Regions from separate parts of the Homo sapiens genome. Here all the other regions are linked to region 2. Evidence: promoter capture Hi-C in 16 types of primary human blood cells and fetal thymus (Javierre and others, 2016). All regions are on one chromosome and are shown on one strand. Each heading gives the region's core, a stretch centred on a gene start or on the middle of the fragment in contact. The rest is flanking DNA. Distances are from core to core; before and after follow the strand shown.

What was found. Contacts are between HindIII fragments. The CHiCAGO score rates a contact against its expected background, and 5 or more counts as called.
Region 1: the fragment with the promoter of METTL17 here is called in contact with the fragment with the promoter of TEP1 in region 2 in 1 of 17 cell types (monocytes); the score reaches 5.2 in monocytes.
Region 3: a fragment that was not itself captured here is called in contact with the fragment with the promoter of TEP1 in region 2 in 1 of 17 cell types (monocytes); the score reaches 5.5 in monocytes.
Region 4: a fragment that was not itself captured here is called in contact with the fragment with the promoter of TEP1 in region 2 in 1 of 17 cell types (M1 macrophages); the score reaches 5.9 in M1 macrophages.
Region 5: a contact is called between a fragment that was not itself captured here and the fragment with the promoter of TEP1 in region 2, in 1 of 17 cell types (monocytes). The highest score is 5.1, in monocytes.

The regions. Positions count from the first base shown.
Region 1 is chr14:20,988,631-20,991,330 of GRCh38, forward strand. METTL17 (methyltransferase like 17) reads left to right here and starts at 1,350. Exons shown (of 14, transcript NM_022734.3): 1 at 1,350-1,447; 2 at 1,600-1,753; 3 at 1,834-1,968. The coding sequence starts at 1,373. RefSeq lists a silencer at 997-1,126 and an enhancer at 1,877-1,926. The HindIII fragment of the contact is 15,587 bases long and covers 1-2,700 here.
Region 2 is chr14:20,412,226-20,414,925 of GRCh38, forward strand. It overlaps TEP1 (telomerase associated protein 1), which reads right to left and starts at 1,276. Exons shown (of 55, transcript NM_007110.5): 1 at 1,180-1,276. RefSeq lists enhancers at 114-1,030, 140-309, 860-929, 1,430-1,479. The HindIII fragment of the contact is 9,686 bases long and covers 1-2,700 here.
Region 3 is chr14:21,204,408-21,207,107 of GRCh38, forward strand. It overlaps LINC00641 (long intergenic non-protein coding RNA 641), which reads right to left and starts at 2,493. Exons shown (of 2, transcript NR_038971.1): 1 at 2,204-2,493. The HindIII fragment of the contact is 2,828 bases long and covers 1-2,698 here.
Region 4 is chr14:21,048,024-21,050,723 of GRCh38, forward strand. LOC105370398 (a long non-coding RNA gene) reads right to left here and starts at 672. Exons shown (of 4, transcript XR_943588.3): 1 at 239-672; 2 at 32-123. It also overlaps a transcript of NDRG2 not described here. The HindIII fragment of the contact is 2,346 bases long and covers 263-2,608 here.
Region 5 is chr14:21,014,927-21,017,626 of GRCh38, forward strand. NDRG2 (NDRG family member 2) reads right to left here. Exons shown (of 16, transcript NM_001320329.2): 16 at 1,846-2,700. The coding sequence ends at 2,670. Among named protein-coding and RNA genes, the nearest start is that of MIR6717, 7.1 kb to the right of the region's middle. The HindIII fragment of the contact is 1,061 bases long and covers 921-1,981 here.

The sequences.
Region 1 (2,700 bases), core at 100-2,599, 580 kb after region 2:
AAAAGGAGGACTGAGGAAAAGCTGGAAAAGAGGCAAGTGTCAGCCTAGGATGTGTCAGTGGGCCATGCATTCATCTACAGGAAGGGCGGTTCCGCCTGGAAGAGGCAGAGCGGCCCTTCTCCCCCTGTCCACCCATGTCTCCTCACCCCACCTCACCCCGAGATGAGGAGCCCTGAGAGAGCTGGCAGGCTGCAGTCGGTGAGGTCTGCAGATTTGGGGAAGAAGTCGAATAAGGTAGAGAACCACAGAAGGAAAGTCCAATTAGGGCGCTGGGGCCTGAGATCATCAGGCCCTAGCCTGATGACTCAGGAGTCTAGCCCTCCAGATGAACTGGCTGGTTCCACACACAGGTCAAGTGGATGTGCTGGGAGAACATCCTAAACCTGTAACGGAAATTAGGGGGCCAGGAGCCCACAGAAATCACACACTGGGTGAGCTCAAGTGTTCGGAGACTGAGGTAGCAGTTGTCCACTGTCAGGTCCCGAAAGTAGATATCGCCTTGCATATGCCATTTATCCTTCTGATGCTCTAGTGAATGAAGGTGTTGATGAGCTTGCAGACTCTGGAGACCATTCCCCTATGCTATATTATCACGTCACAATAGTGGCTGGACCCACCTGAGATTCTGCACCTCAGGTAATCAGACGGCTACTGTCTAAGTCCTGGGCCTGGGGGAAACACTCTGACGTAGCAGCAGACACAGGAGGGTCCCCGTCAGAACCATGTTTTCTGTGAAGTGGGGATCAGTCCTTTTCCCTGAAGTACCTAGCACATAGGTGTTCTCAGTAAGTGTTATGTTAGCTTACTAAGAAGACTGGTCTCATTTGAAGAGAAATTAACAAATGTAAAAAAATAAATAAACCTATTAACTAGGTTTAATATTTATCAAACTATTAACTATTCAATAATCATTTAACTATTAATTTCTGTTTTCTTCAGTCGCTTAAATCTGATTTTTCTCTTCTTTCCGTTACTGCAGTCTCCCTTTTTCACACAGGGAAACAACCCAAGACTCAGAGTTCTCCGCGGAGGAATGCAAAGAACACAGGAAGTCAGTACTCCCAGAAACAGTCTTTGCTGGCGCGCTCACACCCAACCCCATCCCGCCCCCGTCCCGTCCCGCCCCGCCCCACCCCACCCTCTTGATTTCTGGGGCCGGTGACCAGGCCCAACGCAGCCTTCAAGTCGGCCCAAACACGGTTTCTGCCTCAAGGATTATTTATATAACCATTGCTTATTGGCTGCTGGCAAACACTCGCTCTTCTCGTTGGCTGAAACTGTCGGGAGAAGTTCTGCGAAGGCTGCTCCTTGCGGCGTTGGGACTGAGGGTCACAGGCACCTGTATTTCCGTTTCCGGTTCGCCTCCGGAGCCATGGCGGCGGCACTGAAGTGTCTACTGACATTAGGAAGATGGTGCCCCGGCCTTGGAGTGGCTCCCCAGGCCCGGGTGAGTGCCTACATTCCCTGCTGTCGGAGAGACTCTGGATCTGCAGAGACATCTCCGCGCAGAGGAGGAGCGCTCCTGGCAGCCCCCGCCCTAGCGATTGCCAGCAACTTTCCTTTCTGCCAGGAAATCAACCTACCTTTCTCTGCCTGCAGGCGCTCGCCGCCTTAGTACCCGGAGTGACCCAGGTAGATAACAAGTCCGGTTTCCTGCAGAAGAGGCCTCATCGCCAGCACCCTGGCATCCTAAAGCTGCCGCACGTGCGGCTGCCACAGGCACTGGCTAACGGTGCCCAGTTATTGCTACTTGGTGAGTAACGGCGGGAAAGCGAGAAGAAACGGGACTGGACCTACATGCAAGTGATTCCGCTTTTCGTCTTTGGCCCATAGGGAGCGCTGGGCCCACTATGGAGAATCAGGTGCAAACACTGACCAGTTATCTCTGGAGCAGACATTTGCCTGTAGAGCCAGAGGAGTTGCAAAGACGGGCTAGGCATCTTGAGAAAAAATTCCTGGAAAACCCAGGTAGGACTTAAGAATAATTAAAAAGTGGGCGAGATTGAAATATCGGTTAGAAATGAAGAGTAAGAAATAATTCTACAATCTCTCAGATACTGAAGTCTCTTATTTGACTTTCTAACCAGAGCAGCAGTTGTTACAATGATGCCTTACTAAAAGAAGGTAGATTATTTTAGAGATTGCTTAGGTAAAGGTCAGAATGTCCCAGTATACTGTTTTTTGTTTGTTTGTTTGTTTTGTTGTTTTGTTTTTGCTTTGAGACAGAGTCTTGCTCTGTCACCCAGGCTGAAGTGTAATGCTCGATCTCGGCTCACTGCAACCTCCGCCTCCCGGGTTTAAGTGATTTTCCTGCCTCAGCCTCTTCAGTAGCTGGGATTACAGGCGTGCACCACCACACCCGGCTACTTGTATTTTTAGTAGAGACGGGGTTTCATCATGGTGGCCAGGCTAGTCTCGAACTTCTGACCTCAGGTGATCCGCCCACCTTGGCCTCCCAAAGTGCTAGGATTACAGGCATGAACCACCGCGCCTGGCTACCAATATACTGTTAAAATCTAGATATTTATTTTTTTCTGCAAGTCCACTGGATTAGGACCTTCTAAGTTTTTATTCAGGTAAAATAAAGTCCCTGGATGGTCCCTGCCCAGTACTGAAACCCTCTTCTGGGATAAGAGGGTAAATATAATTCATCAAGTTAGTTTCATGATTGTGAGCTCCTTGACACTACCATTTATTCAT
Region 2 (2,700 bases), core at 26-2,525:
AGCCCCCAAGGAAAGGAGTGGGGAAACTCAGAATTGACTCAGATTTTTTTTAAAAGAGATCTCAAGCCAAAAATAAACAGAAAAATAAGGACAGTTTATTTGAGCAACATAGTGAGACTGTCCTATCCTTAAAAGGACAGTCTCACTATTTTGCTCATTTTATTGTTTTGCACCCTGGAGTTTTTGAAAGGAGATTCGGCTGAACCACAAATGGAAAGTTAAAGTTCCGTCCCCACTTCCATCTCTAGTTCCCTTCTCTGGAAGTAAACATTGCTCACAGTTTTATACTAACAGTTTCACAGTTTCTATGCATATGCAAATACATGCCTTCACCATCACCACTGCTTTTGCTTTTGCTTTACACAAACAGGATCATAAGTTAGATGCTATTCTGCACTTAGTATATCTCAGAGACCTTGCCCTGTTAACACATTAATACCCACCTCACTCTTTCCTTTTTTTTTTTTTTTTTTTTTTGAGGCGGAGTCTGGCTCTGTTGTTCAGCTCACTGCAATCTCTGCCTGCCGAGTTCAAGCGATTCTCCTGCCTTAGCCTTCCGAGTAACTGGGATTACAGGCGCCCACCACCATGCCCGGCTAATTTTTTTGTATTTTCAGTAGAGAGGGTTTTCACCATGTTGGTCAGGCTGGTCTCAAACTCCTGACCTCAGGTGATCCCCAACCTCCGCCTCCCAAAGTGCTGGGATTACAGGCGTGAACCACCGCGCCCGGCCTCCACCTCACTCTTCAAGTGGCTGTATGGTAGTCTAGCACATTTAAGCACAGTCTGGGTTTCTATTATCACAAACGGTTCTCATACTACCATTTGTTGGTGACAGCCACTGTCCCCTTTCGATGGGCACACAGGGCAAGGAAGTAAGAGGGGATGATTCTTACGTGGTCTCTCTTCCTGTCCCTCCCTCTCCTTCAGCCTTCTCCTCCTCCTTTCTCACCTCCCCTTTCACGCAGTATACACTCCCTCCCCTTCCCGGAGCCGCCGGGAGGAGCAGGGTGGATGCACCCCTAGCTGAGTCTCGGGTGGTTCCTAACCGGCCCCGCCAGGCACTTCCCACCCAGCTCTCAGCCTCAGAGCCCAGCGCCCTAGACCCAGGGCCAGGGCAAGTTCTGCCTGCGCTCGGACCCTACCTTAGACTGGGGCTGGAAACCCTGGGTGCCTGACCTGGGGCGTCCGATTCCCGCAGCAGGAAGCAGAAACTTCGCTCTGGATTCTGCCGGTGGGAAGGGTGGCAGCCGGGGGAGGAGCCGGATGCGGATCTGAGAAGAGACGGTGCGGGCGGAGACTCTCGGGCCCGGGCGGGGCGCAGCAGCTGCTGGAAGGGCAGCGAGCCGAGGGCCGGGCAAGACGACATGCCAGGGCTGCGACGCGAATGCCCAGGACCCCTGCCGCCTTTTCTGGGGCCCGAGTTTAGTTTGTTATTGTTTCTATTTTTTTTCCCTTTCTGGTCCTATTTTCTCCTGTCCCTAGGGCTTCCCCCTCTACCAAATTCGTCTCCTCTGGCTAATTTTCGTCTTTTTTTCTCCCATTAACTCTTCAAACACCGTTTCCTGGAAAAGATTTTAGCATGCTCGCTGCCTAGCTGTACACCTCTCCTTCCTAATATCAAAGACGGTCAGACTCAATTCATCCTAAAGTTCCTTTGAGGAACTCCTTAAAAGGAGACGGAAAGCGGAAAGCAACCGCCTGTAACCAAGTGTAGACATCAGTCAATCAAAGTTCGCTGAACTGAGAGCAAGTGCCTCCCCTCCTGTTGATCAGAAGAGAGATCCGTGGATCACACAGAATCTATCTGGAGCCATCCTGAATGATTAATGCTGAACCCTTTCCAGGAAGATGGAACCAGGCTTAGGAAAGAGACAAGTGACCCTTAGGTTAATAATCCTAGCTTCATAAAGAGAGGACCAAACATAGTAGCAGGAGAAATATGCTTTCTGCCTTTATATAAAGCAGATTAGCTGTCTTCTGGAAAATATCATTGCTTTCCTTAGAGAGGTACCCTTGAGTCTCAGGTAACAGCTGAGCTTCCGCTCAGAATTGAGGGCATTCTGTCCTCTATTAACTGAGCCAGTACCCCTTTCCTTCCTTAGAAACCTCTATTGCCACCAGTCCCAACACTCCCTGCAATGGTCTTTATGTTTGTGTCTCCCCAAAATTTATATATTGAAACCCTAATCCCAATGCGATGGTATTTAGGGTGGGATCTCTGGGAGGTCATTAGGTCATGGAGTTTAGAATACTCATAAATGGGATTGGTGGCCTCATAAGGAGAGACGGAAGAGCTAGCTAGCTCTTTTTCCACGATATGAGGATACAAGAAAACAGCCATCTGCAATCCCAAGGAAGACCCTCATCTTCAGAGGCAGACCATGCTGGCAATCTGATCTTGGACTTCCATTCTCTAGAACTGTGAGAAATAATATTTGTTGTTTAAGCCACCCGGTCTACGGTAATTTGTTATAGCAACCTGAACTAAAACATTTCCTTTTTATAACAAATATTTTAAAGCTCTTTTTATTTTTCTGAAACATAATTCGTAAAGAATGTAACTTACCCCCACGCACAATTTTAAACCAAAATTTAAAGACAAAAAGTAGAGACAGGGTTTTGCTATGTTGCCCAGGCTCTCTACCTCCAGGGCTCAAATAGTCCTCCTACCTTGGCCTCCCAAAGTGCTTGGATTAC
Region 3 (2,700 bases), core at 35-2,534, 790 kb after region 2:
TTAGCAGACTACCCTGTGGTTTGAGGTAATTTCCCCCAGGAGGGCCAATGGGGACTTTGAAGTATTTATGCCTCTTTAAAAACTTAAGTATCCTTAAAACAGGGAGGGACAATAAATGCAGCAGACACCAAGACATTATGGTCCATAGAAAGGTTAAGCCTGGATGGAAACTAGTAAAGTTGTTAACCAACGACCACACTAGAAATGGAGTCTGAGTCATTGAACTTGACGGGTGGATTCTTGGATCAAGAATTTTGGGGAGGGAAGGCTATGTCCCAAATTCACTGCAACTTCATTATTGTGGCTTGTGAGGGTCTGCAAAAGTGACTGAATCTTTGTCACTGGACCTCTTTCACATTAATGTCCCTGTGGGAAAGACCAAGTCTTTCTTTAGAACTCGTGCAATGTCACTGCCAGGTGCTTGTAATAGTCCATGGCAGGCATCAAGAGTAGAAACTTGGCTAGACACAGTGGCTCACACCTGTAATACCAGCACTTTGGAAGGCTGAGGTGGCCAGAGATCAAGACCAGCCTGACCAACACGCGAAACCCCATCTCTACAAAAAACACAAAAAAATTAGCCAGGTGTGGTGTCGAGTGCTACTCACGAGGCTGAGGCAGGAGAACCACTTGAACCTGAGAGCAGGGGTTGCAGTGAGTTGAGACTGCACTCCAGCCTGGGTGTGAGAGTGAGACTCTTGTCTCCAAAGAGTAGAAACTGTGGTTTTCCCAAGATATTTGGAAAAGTTTGTCTTCTGGGCCAGAAGAAATGGTTTAAAATACACGTTGTGGGTGGGAGAAGCTGTATTTTCTCTATATTCCTGCTTCACTTCTAAAGCCTAACAAAGTTGCATGAAATGGCAGACTTTCAGCTGTTAGCCAGGCACTGCTCAATATGCTCTTGAAACTATTCAATCTATGAAACGACTCTAGCCCTCATTAATAGAATGAAGAGAAAAATGGTATGGGGATATTTTTCCCCTTTTGTTAACTTAGAGAAGTTGCTAGGATCCTAGTCTCTTACCTCTATTTAGGAAATAGTTTATTCAATTTCTAGGACTACAGACTACAGTTCAAAGACACCATTTCCTCTGCCAAGGTCCAAAGCCCATGGAGTTAAGTCAGAACATAGATCAAATTTTTGGCTCTACCATTTGAATAACCATAGGGCTTTGAACAAGGCAATCTCTCTGAAGCTCCTTGAAGCACAGAAATTATTTGCATACGTACGTAATAGAACTGTTGTTTGAGAAACAACAGTCTATGTCAATTAAACGCTGGCCTAACAGGCTGCACACAAAGCCTATAAAACATACTCTCTTCCCTGGGCATGAAGCAACTGATTGACAAGATGGGTTCCTATTTAACAATAGTTTATTCTGTAAGAGGCACTGCTATATGAAGGTGTGAGCAACATGGATTAAGCCTGCAATATCGTCCCATTGAAGACGCCCTCACTAGGGAAATCTTCAATATTAAAGCCTAAGGTCTAGGAAAGAAAACATCAATGAACTCAGGACACACAAAATATTGGAGTCACATTTGTTCATGTACGTTTGAGTTAGTAACCACTAGCAGTACTTGTGTGGAAACTTCTCAATATTCTACAGCACTTAACTATCCAATAAAGTAGTCTCACGTCACACGTCTCTAAATAAAAATTTAAATCTAACTCTTCACACTAGCCACATCTCAAGGCTCAGTAAAGTCACCAGTTGTTATACTGGTCAATGCATCATAAAACACTTCCATCGCCACGAAGTGTTACTGACAGTACTATAGCTTTAACAGCTCACTGTAACATGCGTTGATAACAAGGAATTTTCCCCCTCCCTAACCACCAGATGACTCTTTGGGTGCCTTCTTTACTCTGGGGCCTAGACTTTAATGAGGGTACACCTTGGCCCTTTTAGCTGCCTTCAGTTCTTTGATGAAAACATACCACTCACACATCCTCTTACTGCACTTAATTCTGACATATACAGTCATCCCTCTACTAAACTTATTGGCCAGCCACCCAGCCACCGTTTCTTGAAACCCGTGTCCTTTCCTAATCCTCACCCCTCTTTATCACACAGGGTTTTTTGTTTTGTTTTGCCTTTGGTGAGTAGTTCACAATTTGGGCCAAAAATTGGAATTATGGCAACTTAAAAAACAACGAAGAGTCCCAACCCCAGAGATTTAGTAGGCCTGGAGCACACACCTGGACATCAGAATTTAAAAGCCCATCCCCCTGCTCCCAGGAAATTTTAATGCACATTGACAGTTGAAACCTATTAAACTCCACAAATTTGGTAATGTAATAATCCAAAAGCCACAATTTTCCTAGACTTCTGAAAGTCTTGTAGGAGTTATTTTTGCAAATGCAAATTTGTCAGAGCTTCAGAGCCATGTTTCTCCAAACTTTTATTTCTGAGTGCCACTTGAAAAAAACAATCCAAACATGCTTTCCTCTTCCTATCTGCATTTATCTTGGGTTCTAACTCCTTCCTACTAATCCCTTTGTCATTTGCATTCACCCCCTTACACTGTTCTCCCCTTCCTCTTACTATGCTTTGTAGTTCTACTCACAAAGGGCGTTAACTCCAATGAAGAAGCCCTGCTTTTCAAAATTGAGATTTAACTTGAAAGTTACTAATGCAAACACAAATTCTGCAGTTTTCTACTTTATTTACTTCCTGTCTCCTAACACTTGGAAAG
Region 4 (2,700 bases), core at 186-2,685, 640 kb after region 2:
AACCCTTGAGCTATGGCACCAAAAAACATACCAGTAGCAACAACATCCAGGGGGCCTTCTCTTCTCCTTGGGAGAGCTTCAACTCATTTCATCACATTTCTTCCATGCACCTGCACAACTGGGCTTCCAAAAGTGCTTCAAAGACTTCAGAGCTTCATTCTAATGTCCTCCCCCTACCCCCACCCCACCATGAATGGGCAAAAAGAAGAGCAGTTATAGCTCTTATCAGGATGCTTACCTGTGCAAGACTCCAAAACCAGTAAGCTTGGGAACATCCACGGAGCCACAGGGACATGAGAAAGCCCACATTGCTAATGAGATCTTGTAAGAAGTCCACAGTTCATAAGAGGAAAGGTAAATAAAAATGTGTGCTCGTGATGAAAATACACACTGTGATAGAACGCCTCTTAGCTTAGGGAGGTGGGAGTTTCCCCATCTATATAAGCTGATCTCAAACTCCTGAGCTCAGGTGATCTACTCTCCTCAGCCTCCCAAAACTGCTGAGATTACAGGTGTGAGCCAATGCGCCTGGCAATAATGTTACCAACAGATGGTTTTTGGGCTTGAATACCTTCAGGGACATGGATCTTCACTACCACTTCACAAGAGTATAATGTGGATTAAAAGTAACAATACATATAAAGCACTTAGTACAGTGACTAGCATGTAGGGAAAGTTTGAATGGTGTTAGCATTTCTATTTATCATTGTGGTGTCAAATGTTGAGTGGTCAAACCTGTGATGAATGGAGCAGGCCTGACTTCCGTGACAGAAGAACAAAGGATTTAAACAAGGGAGGCCAAACTCCTCCTCATCCGCCTCTTGCCAAAAAGCTCCTAGCCAAGAGTAGATAAGGGAAGGTTCAAGGTCAGACAAAAAGGACAATATGTATTAGTTTCTGTAGATAAGGTTATTTGGGAGGAATGGATGGGTACTTTGAGTTGAAGGAGAAGTAAAAGGGGGCTTTGGAGAATTTCTGTTAAGATTACTTAAGGGAAGTTTTTCTCCTCTGCAACCTCTGTGAATTTATGAATCCAAAGATATGAAAATAAGTTGGAGGACTTAGGACCACTAACTTTTGAGGGTGCCCTCTGTATTCCCTCCCATCCAAAGGATTTGATTATTGCAGCAATTGATGGAGACAGGGCTCTAGTGACATTTCCAACTTCCCCTCCTGAGATATTTAAATTAGTCCTTAGGAAGGCTTACTATCCCCTCACTTCCATCGTGGAAGCCTCTTATATTTTTCCCACCCTCTGATTCAGCTCCATTTTCTGGTTCATTTTTCATCACTCAAAACCTCCACCAACGCCTGTGACTCATGTCCAGTGGATTGGTTATAGCAGAAAAACATTGTGGTCATTACTTTCTATGGTTTTTTCATAGAAACTTAGTTGAACTTACACATTTAAAACATAAACTAACTGTGGTGTGAATTAGTACAAATTCCTGCTTGGGTCGTGGCATTTAGCACAAGATGAAATTTCCTATCTCCATGGCTTTAGGGCTCTCCCAGTAGTAATCATAACATTATAATGCTGCAAGACATCTTGTCCAGTGTTCTCGGAGATCATCTAGTCATGCCTTCCTCATGTTGCAAATGAGCAAAATAACCCTGAGGACTTAAACACTTTGCCCAAGATTACATGAATAATTTAGGCAAGAACTCGGGCTTTTTTGAACAAGCCTTGTGATATTTACAAAGTGGCATTCAATATCAAATGGATCTCAGACATCTTTCTTCTTTTTTTTTTTTTTTTGAGATAGAGTCTTGCTCTGTCACCCAGGCTAGAGTGCAGTGGCACGATCTCGACTCATTGCAACCTTGTTGAGCTTTTTGGCCTCCCAGGTTCAAGCGATTCACCTACCTCAGCCTCCTGAGTAGCTGAGATTACAGGTATGCACCACCATGCCCGGCTAATTTTTGTATTTTTAGTAAAGACTGGGTTTCACCATGTTGGTCAGGCTGCTCTTGAACTCCTGACCTCATGTTCTGCCTGCCTTGGCCTCCCAAAGTGTTGGGATTACAGGTGAGCCACTGTGCCCAGCCCAGATATCTTTCAAGATCAAATCATACATGGACTGGCAAATCAATCTGCAAATGGGCAGACCCCCGGATTTGAGACAAAAGCATGTTCATCCAAAAGAGTATTAAGTGCCCGTAATCCTGACACGTTGCATTTCTGACCTTCACCTGAATGCTCATATTGTATCATTGAGATGGGAAAAAAACAGTACATGAGGAATTGATGGCAAACTAGTCAAGCATGTCCCTGGCCGTGCCATTGGCTGCTGGAAACATAAATAAGGATATGCAACAAGAAAAAGGGCCTGGACCTCCCATCTGCTACTCCGGACCAGGGTGAAAACATTACAGAGATCCTGTTTGGTGGAGCTCCGGGTGGGCCTGAGATATCCCAAGCATTTATCTTTGGTAAGGGTTACCACTTTTTACCCTTGAATTTGGCATATCCAGAACAGGATCTTCATGGTCAACTAGAACCTGCAGAGCAATGCTTCCCAGAATTTCCCCTGAAGTGCTAGTAACCACAGAGGAAGATGAACTAAAACACCTAAAGTAGTGCCCAATGAGCTTGGGCTTTCTCTGAAGCTTCTTTCACTTAACTAATATTTATAAAATAGCCGTGCATATGAGTGTTTTATATGCTATCTTTAAATTTCATTTGTGGTAATAATAATA
Region 5 (2,700 bases), core at 201-2,700, 600 kb after region 2:
GGACATGGAATATGCTCTTGATTCTTGAGCTTTTCGTCGCTCTCCAACAGAGTAGAGAGGTCAGTCAAGGACAAAACCCCCACCCCACGACTAGCTCCCAGCAGAGGGCATCTTTCTCTCTACCAAACTCAGATTTCTTATGCAGAGACATCTATGGGAAAGACACACAGTCATCACCCATTTGACACACCCACCTACATGATAGATGTGTATGCACACACTCACCTATCTACACATACATGTAATGTGCTCCCATTTGTAGAGATTGCCCTGCTGACAGTGTTATCTATGTAGGCAGATATGCAGAAAAGACTTGCCTTCCCATCCATAATACACAACAGCAGCTATTGCCAGTAAAGATTGATGCTGGTTATAGGTTTTTGCCTTTTCCTTGTGTTTTTCCGAGAAGCTAGTTGGTCCCCACTGATTCCAATTATGCCGCTTCTTTTCTTCAGTGTGGTGCTTCGCACTCTGCTGCCTGCCCTGCGTGTGGTCACCCAACACCCTCAGCATCCAATAGCGAGCTCCATAACCCTGTTTGTTACCCAATACCTCCGCTTCCCCTTCTGACCCTGGCCTACCACATTTAAAATAGACCCAGTTCTATGAAGGACAGTGATGAAATGCTCAAGAATCAAGGGCATATTCCATATCCTATTTCCATGTCAATCAGTGTGTCAGCACCAGACATCAAGTGCATTAGTCCTCAGCTCAGTTTCATTGAGGAAAGGGTATAATTGCCTGTGGAGTTTCTGTAAAGCAATCTAGCAAAAGACCTTGTAATAGTCCATCACAGTAGTGTTGTCAATAATGCTACAAGGTGCCTCCTCATTTTTACTTCTTGTGCCTCAAGACCCTAAGAATCAGCCTGCAACAGCTGCAAAATAAGAATTCCTCTTCATTGTTCATAGTTGTGAAAAAGCTTCCTAATAAACCACAAACATAGACTTAATTAGCTCCCAGATCCCTTGGATTCCATGAGGGAAGAGGAATTCTCAAGATAAATCCTCCTTTTTGCTGCACCCCTCCTGAAAGAGTCTTCAGATCAGAATGAACTATGAGCAGCCCACCCCTTACAGTTAAGTTCATGCACCCTGGTCTACTGATTGCACTAAAACATCCAAAATGGAATCTAGGTGACCCCCTAGGGAGGATCCTACAGGAAGGTGGGTCTCAAGATATCCTTGGGCACTTCTGTCATCAGTCTTCTTCAATTTTTTTTTTTTTTTTTTTTGAGATGGAGTCTCACTCTGTCGCCCAGGCTGGAGTGCAGTGGTGTGACCGTGGCTCACTGCAACCTCCACCTCCTGGGCTCAAGTGATCCTCCCACCTCAGCCTCCCTAGTAGCTGGGACTACAGGTGTGCACCATCAAGCCCAGCTAATTTTTGTATTTTTTGCAGAGACGGGGTTTCACCATGTTCCCCAGGCTGGTCACAAACTTCTGAGCTCAAGTGGTCTGCCCACCTCAGCTTCTCAAGTGTGTTGGGATCACAGATGCGAGCCACCTTGCCCAGCCTCTTCAATTCTTTCTTAAAGGTGGTGATGTTGGTGGTATCTCTGAAATCCTGTGGCCTTTCTCAGTTACCCATAGTTGATAAGGAAGTCTCCTAAGATCTAAATGGTTCCTCTCTCCCAGGCTTAAAAATACTACAATATCAAGGCAACACCGTTGTATTGGAAAAGAGCCAGTTTCTATGTGGTCATATTTTGTGAAGTGCCTATGCCACAAAGGCCCTCTCCCAGGGTTTATATCACTTTGAGAAGAGAATATGAGACGTGGACAGGGAGAAGATAGGAAGAGGAGCATGATGCAGGCACACCTAGACAAAGAATAATAACGGTACTCAGATTCCTCTACAGTTTATTGTTATAGCAGAAGTTGTGGGAGACGGGAGGGCACCCTCCACACATACTACAGTGTGGTCAGAGCCCCAGGGTAGCCCTTTCCACCCTATGCCAAGCCCCAAGCAGCCCAGCCCAAGCTTAGCTCCCTCCCCAGTCCCACTCTAGATGCACACTGAGCTACCAAAGTTAGTGCAGCCAAACGGCCCCAGGCCCCTTCCTGTTGCCCCAGCACCAATCCTTCCCCACACTCGTTCACTGCCCGCCAACTCCCATTCCAACTTCCTTTTTACACTGGATGTTTCTATCACATCCTGAGGACCACTAACCCACCAGCAAGTCTCCCCCTGACACACATTCACGTAGGTCCATACCCTTCAGAGTCCTAAAGGGTTAATGAGAAGCCACCTCAGCTTTGGTGAATGGAGCCCCAGCCCCAAATCCCCTCCCCTTGCAAATATGGGACAAGTAGGGAGAGTCTGATGGAGGCACCAGGACAACTACAACAACCTCTTACCCCTCAGCTATAGACACCTAGATCAGGACAGAGGATGCATATGCCCTCTCCACCTTAACATCAAAATGGGGGAGGAGGAGAATTTAGGGGTCTGGGTCCCTAAGAGATATTAGGACATCTCTTCCAGGAGCTGGGGGGAATCACGGGTTAAAGGTCAAGGTTAGGGTAGCAATCAAAGATCAAGGTCATCTCCCCGCATGATCTGCCCTTTTTCCCTTGCTTACGGTGGCCCAATGCCCCTTCAGCACCTCCCAGGTTAGCTCTGGGGGAGGTGAGGGCTGGGTCCCACTCTAGGGCAACAAGGGCCATTCAACAGGAGACCTCCATGGTGTGCCCCGGG